2 separate regions of the Homo sapiens genome follow, and region 1 is linked to region 2. Evidence: promoter capture Hi-C in 16 types of primary human blood cells and fetal thymus (Javierre and others, 2016). All regions are on one chromosome and are shown on one strand. The core of a region is centred on a gene start or on the middle of the fragment in contact, and the rest is flanking DNA. Distances in the headings are between cores, read along the strand shown. Region 1 has its middle 7.0 kb from the start of LECT2. Region 2 holds the start of TGFBI (transforming growth factor beta induced).

Region 1 (4,902 bases), core at 228-2,727, 68 kb before region 2:
GCCAATCAACAACAGTCTTACCTGAGCACCATGTCTTTTAATCCGTCAAACCTCTAACATTCCGAAAGTTCACAAACCCCCGAACTCCCAGCTTCCCAAATCCATACATAAATAAGATGAACAGGCTGCTCTGCTTGGAAAGATTGTGCCTGACCGACACAGCTCTTCCTAACTATTGTCACTCATTCAGCTTTGTCTTTTTATTTCAGATAGTGGGTTGAGTGATGGTCTCGTCCTCCTAAGAAACATAGTTGATCCTGTCCATACCCTGCGACAGAACAGCTTCACTCTTAGTTATACTCTTGCATGTGTACACGTTCAAAATGTTCATAGTAGTATCATTTGTAGTAGTGTAAAACAGGAAACAACCTATATGTGCATCAACAGTAGAATGGGAACAAATTCTGGTATTTTTGTTTAATGAAATACCCTACAAGAATGGGAATGAATAAAATACAACCAAATACATCAACTTAGATGACTCTCAAAAACATAATGGTGATTAGAAGAAAGGAAATCGGCTGGGCGTGGTGGCTCACGCCTGTAATCCCAGCACTTTGAGAGGCCGAGGTGGGCGGATCACAAGGTCAAGAGATCGAGACCAACCTGGCTAACATGGTGAAACCCTGTCTCTACTAAAAATACAAAAATTAGCTGGGCATGCTGGTGCACGCCTATAGTCCCAGCTACTAGAGAGGCTGAGGCAGGAGAATCGCTTGAACCCAGGAGGCGGAGGTTGCAGTGAGCCGAGATTGCGCCACTGCACTCCAGCCTGGGTGACAGAGCAAGACTCCATCTCACACACACACACACACACAAGAGGAAATCACAGAACAATATGCAGTATATGCTTATTAAAAGTTCAAATGCATGCTTGAAACAGTAAGCTTTATAAATTATATCTCAAGATGAAGCTGTTTCTAAAACATTCAGATACATGCAAATCTAAAGCATATATTGTTTAGGAACACATACATAGATGGTAAAACTATTAATATAAAGAAAAGCAAGAGAAGAGTTGACACAATTTGTATGCTGGTTACCTTCAGGAGAGAGGAAGGGGATGTGATCAGGGGCAGGCACCTGGGCTTCATGGGGGCTGATAATGCTCCTATAAACCTGTTGCTGGGCACAGGTGTTCATCTGGTTATTACCCTTTAAACTGTACATATATGTTTTATACATTTTATATTTTCCAGATTTTTATCTTCCAGTATTTCAACATTCACACACAATTTTAAGTGACAAAAAAATTACAATAAAAAACAAGATCAGAGTGGAACTGAAGGAGATAGAGACATGAAAAAGTCTTCAAAAAATCAGTGAATCCAGGAGCTGTTTTTTTTAAAATAATAAAATAGATAAATTATTAGCTAGACTAATAAAGAAGAAAAGAGAGAAGAATCAAATGGACACAATTAAAAATAATAAACGGATATCACTACTGACCCCACAGAAATACAAACAACCATCAGAGAATACTATAAACAGCTCTATAGCAATAAACTAGAAAATCTACGAGAAATGGATAAATTCCCAGACACATACACCCTCCCAAGACTGAACCAGGAAGAAGTTGAGTTCCTGAATAGATCAGAACAATTTGTGAAATTGAGGCAGTAATAACCTACCAACCAAAAAAGCCCAGGATCAGATGGACTTACAGCTGAATTCTACAAGAGGCACAAAGAGGAGCTGGTACCATTTCTTCTGAAATTATTCCAAACAATTGAAAAGGAGGGACTCTTGCCTAACTCATTCTATGAGGCCAGCATCATCCTGATACCAAAAGTTATCAGAGATACAACAACAAAAAAAGTCAGGCCAATATCTCTGATGAACATTGATTCATCAGAAAGAACAAAAATTTTATTGAGAACAAAAATTCTCAATAAAATACTGGCAAGCTGAATCCAGCAGCACATCAAACAGCTTATCTACCACAATCAAGTTGGCTTCATTCCTGGGATACAAGACTAGCTCAATATATGTAAATCATTTTTTAAATAATAAAAAATATTATGCAATAAAAATTGTTTAAAGATTTTTTGCAGAAGTCAGTGGAGGCAAGCTTACTGTACAGAGTGTATTGTAACAAGTGCATTCCCTGTATAATTTAATCCTCGCAAAAAGCTGAGCAATAAAGCTGAGGAAGCTTGAGGCTCAGAGAACTGAAGTGACATGTTCAGTGTTCCACAGCTGGATGTGCCAAAGCCAAGTCTCAAACTCTACTAGACTCTAGAATTCATACTTTTACATATTTTGTTATATGGTTCAATGAATGACTCATCATTCATACACAGCCTTTCTCATATTTCAGAATTTGAAGCTTGACAATCAATACATCAGTTTCATTTTACTACCTCTAAAATGAAGATGATGATATCAACCTTCATAGGATTCTTGTAAGAATTAAATGAAGTAGTATTCCTAAAATAATTACATTAGGCCAAGCACATACAAAACACTAAGGCTGGGTGCAGTGGCTCACGTCTGTAATCCAAGCACTTTGGGAGGCCAAGGCAGGTGAATCACAAGGTCAAGAGATTGAGACCATCCTGGCCAACATGGTGAAACCCTGTCTCTACTAAAAATGCAAAAATTAGCTGGGCATGGTGGCGCATGCCTGTAGTCCCAGCTACTTGGGAGGCTAAGGCAGGAGAATTGTTTGAACCCCACAGGTGGAGGTTGCAGTGAGCTGAGAGCATGCCACTACACTCCAGGCTGGTAACAGAGCAAGACTCTGTCTCAAAAAATAAAAATAAAAATAATAATTAATTAAAAATAAAAATAAAACACTTAATAAAATTCACCCTCACCTGCTTTCTTATCTACTCTAAAATGGAATTAGATGTAAACTCAGTTATTTTCCTATGGGAGCCAAATATAATCACCAAGATACAACCCCAAATGCCATAATTCGAAATGTTGAAATTCCAAAAGATCAAAATCCTGAAACTATAATTCTGGAAAAAAAATTAAAATTTTTTTAAAGCTATGATTTACATTTTCAAAAGGAGATTTACTTGAGACACATGAAAACGTGACAGAGCACTATAGGCTACTTTACACAATAAAATAGGCAAAAATACACATTTTTGCAAGCATAAGCACTTGGGTATACTAACAACGGTCATATGAATATAATAGTGATGAGAAAATGAATCATATGCATAAAGAAATAGGTCAAAAAGGGAAATGTATAAGTACATATTACTATTGTTGGAAATTGTGTGCAGCCAGATTTAACATTGCAGTTATCTGAAATACTGTGATGCACAACCCAAGTCTTTTGATGGGATCAATCAAAAACCACAGTGAATCACCATCATAACATACAGTTGTCCAAAGATCTGAGATCTTGAGAAATTTTATCTTTCACAAATGCAGATGCACAAAAGGAACATCTCCTTATTTACTGAAGATGTTTCAACGTTTTACGTACAGGCACGATGTTTACACACAAAGTCATTGTTGTGATAATATACTTTTGCGAAGTCAAATTTGCAAAAATGTATGCAATGAATTAGAACTTTCTGAAAGTCTCTACACAATTTATACCTCCAGTATTGGAAATGATGCAAAGATGAAATGTGCATAGTGAATTGTAAAAAAAAATAATGCTGAAAATTTAAAATAATAAAATAAAACTTAAAAAAGAAAAAACTAAAAAGGAAGTTTCGCATATGAAGAACTATGTTACAGGAATAGATTATAGGCATTGTGCAAAGGTAGTCTGTAAAAAATGACTGACTTTCACAGGCATTAACTGTATTTTGAAATCTTGCATTTCAGTGAATAGCTGCTTTTTTCCTTTTAGGACATGGCTTTCCTCAGAGAATATGTTCACCTTCATTTTCTATGTGGCACTGCTCTTTTAAAAATTCTTCTATGATTCTGTATACAACAACATAATAGCCTTCCCTATTAAGTTTTCCCATCTTTGGTGCCTTGGTTCCATGTTGTTTTGGGTACATAGAAGTCCATTCTCGAAATAATACTGGTGCAAAACTATTGCGGGTCTTCTTATCCTATCATGCACATAATTATTTTCTAACCAGGCAGAAACTTCACTGGCTTCTTCAGGCAAACGTGGCTTTAATTCATTAAAAGCCCCCGGAATGTAATGAGATGGAAGGAATGCTAATGCAGGCAACCGATGGCTTTTTAAACTGAAGTTTTCATTGTTGCCATATAGCATGACCAATCATCTGAATTTTCCACCAATTTCTTCTCTTTAAACCATACTTAATTCCCAAATAGAGACACTAACGAGGTAATAGTTCCGCCTAATATGACACAACTATTCTGTTATTGTGATCTTCAGGATTTTAAGATGTGAGGGATTTTAGACTTGAAGGATTTGGACTTTACAGATTTTGATCTTTTGGAATTTCAACCTTTAGGATTATGGCATTTGGATTGTGTCTTTCAGGATTATGATCCCAAACTGTTTCCAATGTCCTGTGGCTGGAATAGGTTACAGAAACCAGAAGATTTCATAATAAGGTGACCTTGTTTATAGGGCAAATTCTGGAGGCCCCCCCCCATATGCTAAACGGGATGTGTACCTCAAAAAGACTCAGGTCCATGTTCTGATTGTAAGGCCCTTGCTGTGTCGTTAATAAAGGTCAAAGATGTTTACACCTCTGCTGTGGGTAGGCAGACATTTTCCCCTGTCATTAGTTTTTCCTATTCTGTTATTTCTTTCTGGTAAGCCGTTGGCCAAAAAATCATTTCCTTTTCTTCTGTTAAAGCTAATTGTGTCTTTTGTTGATAACCTGCCTATTGATATGTAAGACATAGCTATATTGATTGTTTTAATAATACCAGCAATACATTCTTATTGCAAAAATTACCCCAACATGCAAAAAAGTATAAAACAAATCCCCACTAATGTTT
Region 2 (5,716 bases), core at 1,462-3,961:
ATGTTTTGCTTTCAATAAATGAAATGAGCATTTTCAGATAATTATTTCTGTAGTTGCTCAAAACTATCATATTGTTTCATTGAACCCTACTATATAGAACAATGACTGGGGAGAGGTAATAATAATAATAGCAATGCATATTTATTGGCCATTTTACTTGAATTGTATCATGTAATCTAGTTTAGAGTCCTGTGAGGTAGGTTTTATTATCCTCTCTATGAGGTTGAATAACTTGCCCAAGACCACACAGCTAGGAAGTAGAAAGACTGGTATTTGAACCCATCTTCTCCTTTTCTTCTCCTTCCTCCTCCTCCTCTCTTCCAACACCTGCTCCCAAGGAAGCTCATCCAGTGCATGACTTTAGCTACCACCTGCTCGTAGTGGTGACTCAAATCTGCATCTCCAATCCTCATACCTATCCTGAGCTCAAGACCTTTGAATATAGCTCCCTCCTGTCCATCCCTCCTGGAAATGCAGGTGGCTTGTTCACACATAATGTGAACACAAATGGAGCACTCTCCTCACACACCCAAATGTGCACCTTCACCAGCGTGCCCAGCACAGGCATCCCTTCCTGCCAGCTATGAGCCTCGAGGTTAGCTCTACTCCCCCTCCCTAACCCTGCATGCCCAAGGGGTTTCCAAGTCTAATCAATGCTACCACTAAAATCTCCCATACACCTGTTCCCTCCTCTCCACTAGCTTGATCACTCCCCATGCAGGCCCTCAGTTGCTTTATGCTCTCAGTAGGCCCTCCTCCAGTGCCCACACTCTCTCCCTTCTCCTTCCCACCTTCTTTCTACCAGAGTTCTAACCTCTCCAAGCCCCGCTTGTCTTTTTCTTTCCCTGGCTGCCATCCTAACTCGCCCCTTCCCTTCTCAGACAAGCTTCTACATGCTACTCATCTCTCCATCAAACCACCATATTCGGGCTTTGGCCATCTGCTCTCCACAGCCAAGTCCCCAGTGGCCTCTCTGCTTCTGACACAGTGAAAGCCATTCAGATCTGTCTTGTTGGCAGCATTCCTCACTTTGAGCAGCGCCCTCCTACTAGGATACCCCTCCTTGACTACAACCCCACATTCTCTACTTCCTGGGCTCTTCTGTCACTGGAGGATGACTCCCAGGTGTGAATCTTCATCCCGCGTCCCTCACTCAAGCCCCCGATCCTCATATCCAGCTTTATCCTCATGGGATGCTTCACCAGGATGAGTCATAAGCACCTCAGACTCAGGGTGTCCCAAACCACTCATCTACCTGGCAAGCCTGCACTCTGCATGTGCCTCATTCTGAACATGGCACCATCACCTGCTGCAATGTCCAGACCACAAACACCCTACAATATCCTTGACTCTCCTTTCTCCCCTTCTCCCTGTATACAGACTCCAAATTCTATTGAGACTATTACCTCCTACACCCCTCACATTTGCCCAGCCTTCCCCATCTCTGCCTCTACCACCATAGTTCAAGCTCTCCCATGGTCCCTTCCTGGTTACCTGTTCTTCTTGCCTCCTTAAGCCTCTCATGACACTGGCCATGTCACTTGCCTCCACCCATCACCCGCTAGGCTCTTAGCTGGAGTCTGGGCCCTGCTACCTTCCTCCCCTTCTTCCCTACCCTTGACTCCACCTCCCTGTGCTTCAGCCAACCAGATAACTTGAGTTTCGTGAATGCATGCCTCAGTTTACCTGATTAACTCATTTTCATCTTTCAGGCCTCAGAGCAGGTATCACCCTGTCAGGGCCAGGTGCCTCTTCTTAGCTCCCAAAGCCCCAGCTACTCTTCATGGAACATCATTGGCTTGGGCTACGGATCTTCCCAAATTGGAGCTTTTTCACAAAGGGCTTAGGTCTCACTCATTCTATTAATCCATCTGTGTCTCCCCAGGGCTAGCAGTGCCAAGTAACTGACAGGTGATTAATAGATGCTTGGGTAAGTATCACCTCTTTACCATGTGACAATTTGTTTACCTGCCTTGAGCTCCTCCAGGGCAGGACTCTTGCCTTTGCAGAATCTATCTGGCAGGTACTGTTGCAGAGATGTTTACTGAAGAAGGGAATGAATTAGTACCAAGGTGAGGACCCCACCCTTCCCCACGGGCTCCAAAAGCAGCTTAGAGCCCAACAAAACCTGCCCCACATTTTTGGCGTTTCTGTGGATCACACGATTTACTCATCTGTCTTTCAATGAGCATGACAGGTGGGGTGGGGGTGGAGGGATTAGAGATTGAGGAGCTGGGGAGGGTGGTCAGCTCCTGGGGTGCAGAAACAAGTCTGATGGGCCATGGTGTTCTGGGAATCAGCACTGCCTCCCCTCACCCCTCCCTGCAGTGTTTTGTAGCCTCAAGATCAGTGAGGGAATCTTCGGGCCCCCAGCATGCAGGACCGAAGCCCCCGAGACAGCTGTCCCTCAGTCCCAAGGTCCCCATTTGGAAGCAGCCACAGGAGGCCTAAGGGACCTATACCCTTGGTTTGAGGAAGACTGTGGCGAGGGAGAGAGGGAGGGAGGGCTGGCAGTGAGGGCAAGGGCTGGGAAAACTGAGCACGGGCACAGTGCGGGAGCGGGTGGGTGCCCAGGGCAGCCAGGGGCGCACGGGTTGGGAGGCGCCAGGCGGCCCGCCCTCCTTGCACGGGCCGGCCCAGCTTCCCCGCCCCTGGCGTCCGCTCCCTCCCGCTCGCAGCTTACTTAACCTGGCCCGGGCGGCGGAGGCGCTCTCACTTCCCTGGAGCCGCCCGCTTGCCCGTCGGTCGCTAGCTCGCTCGGTGCGCGTCGTCCCGCTCCATGGCGCTCTTCGTGCGGCTGCTGGCTCTCGCCCTGGCTCTGGCCCTGGGCCCCGCCGCGACCCTGGCGGGTCCCGCCAAGTCGCCCTACCAGCTGGTGCTGCAGCACAGCAGGCTCCGGGGCCGCCAGCACGGGTAAGCCGAGCCGCCTGGCCAGGGGCTGCGGAAGGTCAGGTAGTCGGGGCTCGGAGCGCAAGCCGCTGGGGGCATTGAACTGGGCTGGGGGCGCAGGGGACAAAGCCCGAACTAAAAACCTTGCAGCATGGAGCGCTCGGACACCAGCCCTGCACGCGGTGGAAGGAGAGAGGGAGGGAGGTGGAGGACCATGGAGGGAAAGCGGGAGGCCGCCGCTTTGTAGAAGGGAGTGGGGAAGTGGACCAGAGACTTTCGACGCAGGCCAAGAGCCTGAGACGGACAGCGCTTTCAGCTTCTCCTCCCAGCCACTGCAGAAAGGGGGAAATGGCAACTCTTTGGCCATAATCACCGTGGGAGGGTGCCAAGGGCAAAGCCCACCCAGCAGTACACCTATTCCAACCCAGCCAGGCCCCCGGCCAGCGACTCCAGACAAGAACCTGGGCCACACACGGTGGCAGCATCTAAGGTGCCCCAGGCTCCTGTGCTCCTGGCCAGGCCCTGCACTCAGACACTGCTGGCACCCGACACTGCTCTCTGGGTACAGCAAGGGCAATGTGGCACTTCTTGTCCTGCCCGATGAAGAGCAGGAGAATGCACTGGGCCCTCACACACACTGTTCAAATGGGGAAACTGAGTCCTGAGTGGTTCCACTTTCCCACAGTCCTGAAGTGTGCACTGGAGCCAGGATTGGAGTCTGTCTTAAAGTAATAGCTGGGTTTGTAAATGTAGGACACTATCATTGCAGGAATTCCTTTGAGACCCTGAAGATGTGTTGGCTTTAGGAGACAAACTCAAGCAGAAGGTCTGGTCTGATAGTGGCCCTAATACTGACCCAGGCAGAGGCAGGCAACATTTCTACCTCAAAAACCAGGCCATACCTGCGTCACAAATACCCAGGCTTTGCTGCAGCTTCCAGCCTACCTGGTTGCACCAACTTCTTTTTCATAACTAGGTAAAACTATATATGAGTAGAATCTTGTAGTGACTCCTCAGAGGAAGCCTAAATACCATCGGGGTCTGGCGTTCACACCCACAAGCAATGCCCAAACCTCCAAGAGACTGGGCAGATCTGTGCTCAAATCAAAACTCATTGTTGGGGGTGATAGAGTTGACTTCACAGGCCCTGAAAGTCTTGGCTCCTTGCACTAGGAGTGCTCTGGGTACGGGTACAGGCTGCCCCTTGTAGGGCATAGTTGCTCTTGTTTCCTCTACTTGTGGCTTTATGGTCTAGGCCTTTCAGGAGTTTGGGGCTCTGGCGGAGAGGGCCTGCTGGGAGCACATCTGGCCACCCTGCAGAGTGAAATCAAACCAGGCCTGGCTGCAACCTCAACACCCTCCTGGAAAGAGGAGAATACTGGGGATATCCTGGGGTCTTTCTGGAAGTGGGAGAATCAGCTTTGACTTGGGCAGTGTGCAGAATAGAGTGAGGGGGGATGTCAGAAAGATGAGAGGGATATGAGGCCTCAACATCAAAATGCAAGCACCTGGCATTTTTATTATCTCTGCCCACCTCTCCGTTGGTCTCTCTGCCTTTCCTGCCAATGAATTGTGTTATGTTTGGGTGCCTCAATTTGCCTAGGAGGGTTCTATTTCTTCTGTATCTTCGCCACTAAGTCAGGAGAAGATCCTTATAGCATGCCCTGCAACAGTGTCACCTGTAAGGGCATCTCTCTGCACAGCCACAGTGAAGGATCCTCAAAGGTATTGAGGGCTTTCCATCAAGAGCCATCTTTACAGCAAACCTCTTTCCCTTCAGAGCCCAGAAGAGTGCTGACCAGCTGGAAAACAGGGTTTTTTTCTTAAATGCAGATGCTCTTGATTATGAGTTCCAGATATTAGATCAACTTCCCCACCATACCCCTGCAGGCAAAGCCTCTTAATTAGCTTCCTGCAGCACAGCTGGAAAGGCCTATTGTAATCTGTGATGGGCAGAGTAATCTAAGAAGTCACAGGAGCACCCCTGTCCCAGTAGAATCTGGATGCGCAGGCACATGAACCATGGCAAAATGGTTGCAGGCACAGTTGTATTTACTCTGATCTAACTGTCCCTGTTAATGCCACAGGGCTGCCTGGCCTGGCACACAGGGCTGTGGCGCCTTGTGCAAATGGATAACGTTGTTCTAGCTCCAGCCTTTCATTCAAAGTGAAAACTGTTAGAAAGGGAAGGAAAACTTTGCTATTTTAAGGAATTGTAGCGTGCTGCCTGATATGAAGGAAGAAATAACAGCTGTGCCTTGCTTGTGCGCAGCACTCGATTGCCGCTTTTGCTTTCGACCTCACCACAACACAGTGAGATCTACTGTTCATGTTCCCATTTTACAGGAGGTGAAACTGCAGCTTAGTGAGGTAGAGAGTGACTTAGTTCAGACACAGAATGCTGTTGGGAGAGTAATAACTATGATATGGTCTCTTGACTCCCAGCTATATCTGTGTTGCTATAGGGAAGGGGAAAAATAATACTGAAAGAGAAGTAAAAATACAATCACACTTCCAAACATCAACCACCAAAAACTGAACTGAATTTCCTGAAGCACTTGGTTTTCAAATCTAAGCTGAACATCAATGCTGTTATTCTTGAGGCCCAGAAGCAACTTGCTCATTTCAATTAAGCTTCAGCATGAACTTCCTATGTACACAGCCCACCCACACTCCCCGATGTGAGAAGGAGAGGGTCACAGCCGCCCCCAGCCTCTGCTGCTGCCACAAGGACAGCAGCAGTGGAAACATTCAGCAAAGGAATGTTGGAGCCACATCCACAAGAGACTCACTGAAGATTCGCCAAACGCCTACGGAAAGTGGCAGG

The links. Contacts are between HindIII fragments. The CHiCAGO score rates a contact against its expected background, and 5 or more counts as called.
Region 1: a fragment that was not itself captured here is called in contact with the fragment with the promoter of TGFBI in region 2 in 1 of 17 cell types (monocytes); the score reaches 7.1 in monocytes.

What each region holds. Positions count from the first base shown.
Region 1 is chr5:135,959,530-135,964,431 of GRCh38, forward strand. No RefSeq gene overlaps it. Among named protein-coding and RNA genes, the nearest start is that of LECT2, 7.0 kb to the left of the region's middle. The HindIII fragment of the contact is 1,184 bases long and covers 886-2,069 here.
Region 2 is chr5:136,026,277-136,031,992 of GRCh38, forward strand. It overlaps TGFBI (transforming growth factor beta induced), which reads left to right and starts at 2,712. Exons shown (of 17, transcript NM_000358.3): 1 at 2,712-2,913. The coding sequence starts at 2,780. RefSeq lists an enhancer at 4,929-4,998. The HindIII fragment of the contact is 4,637 bases long and covers 885-5,521 here.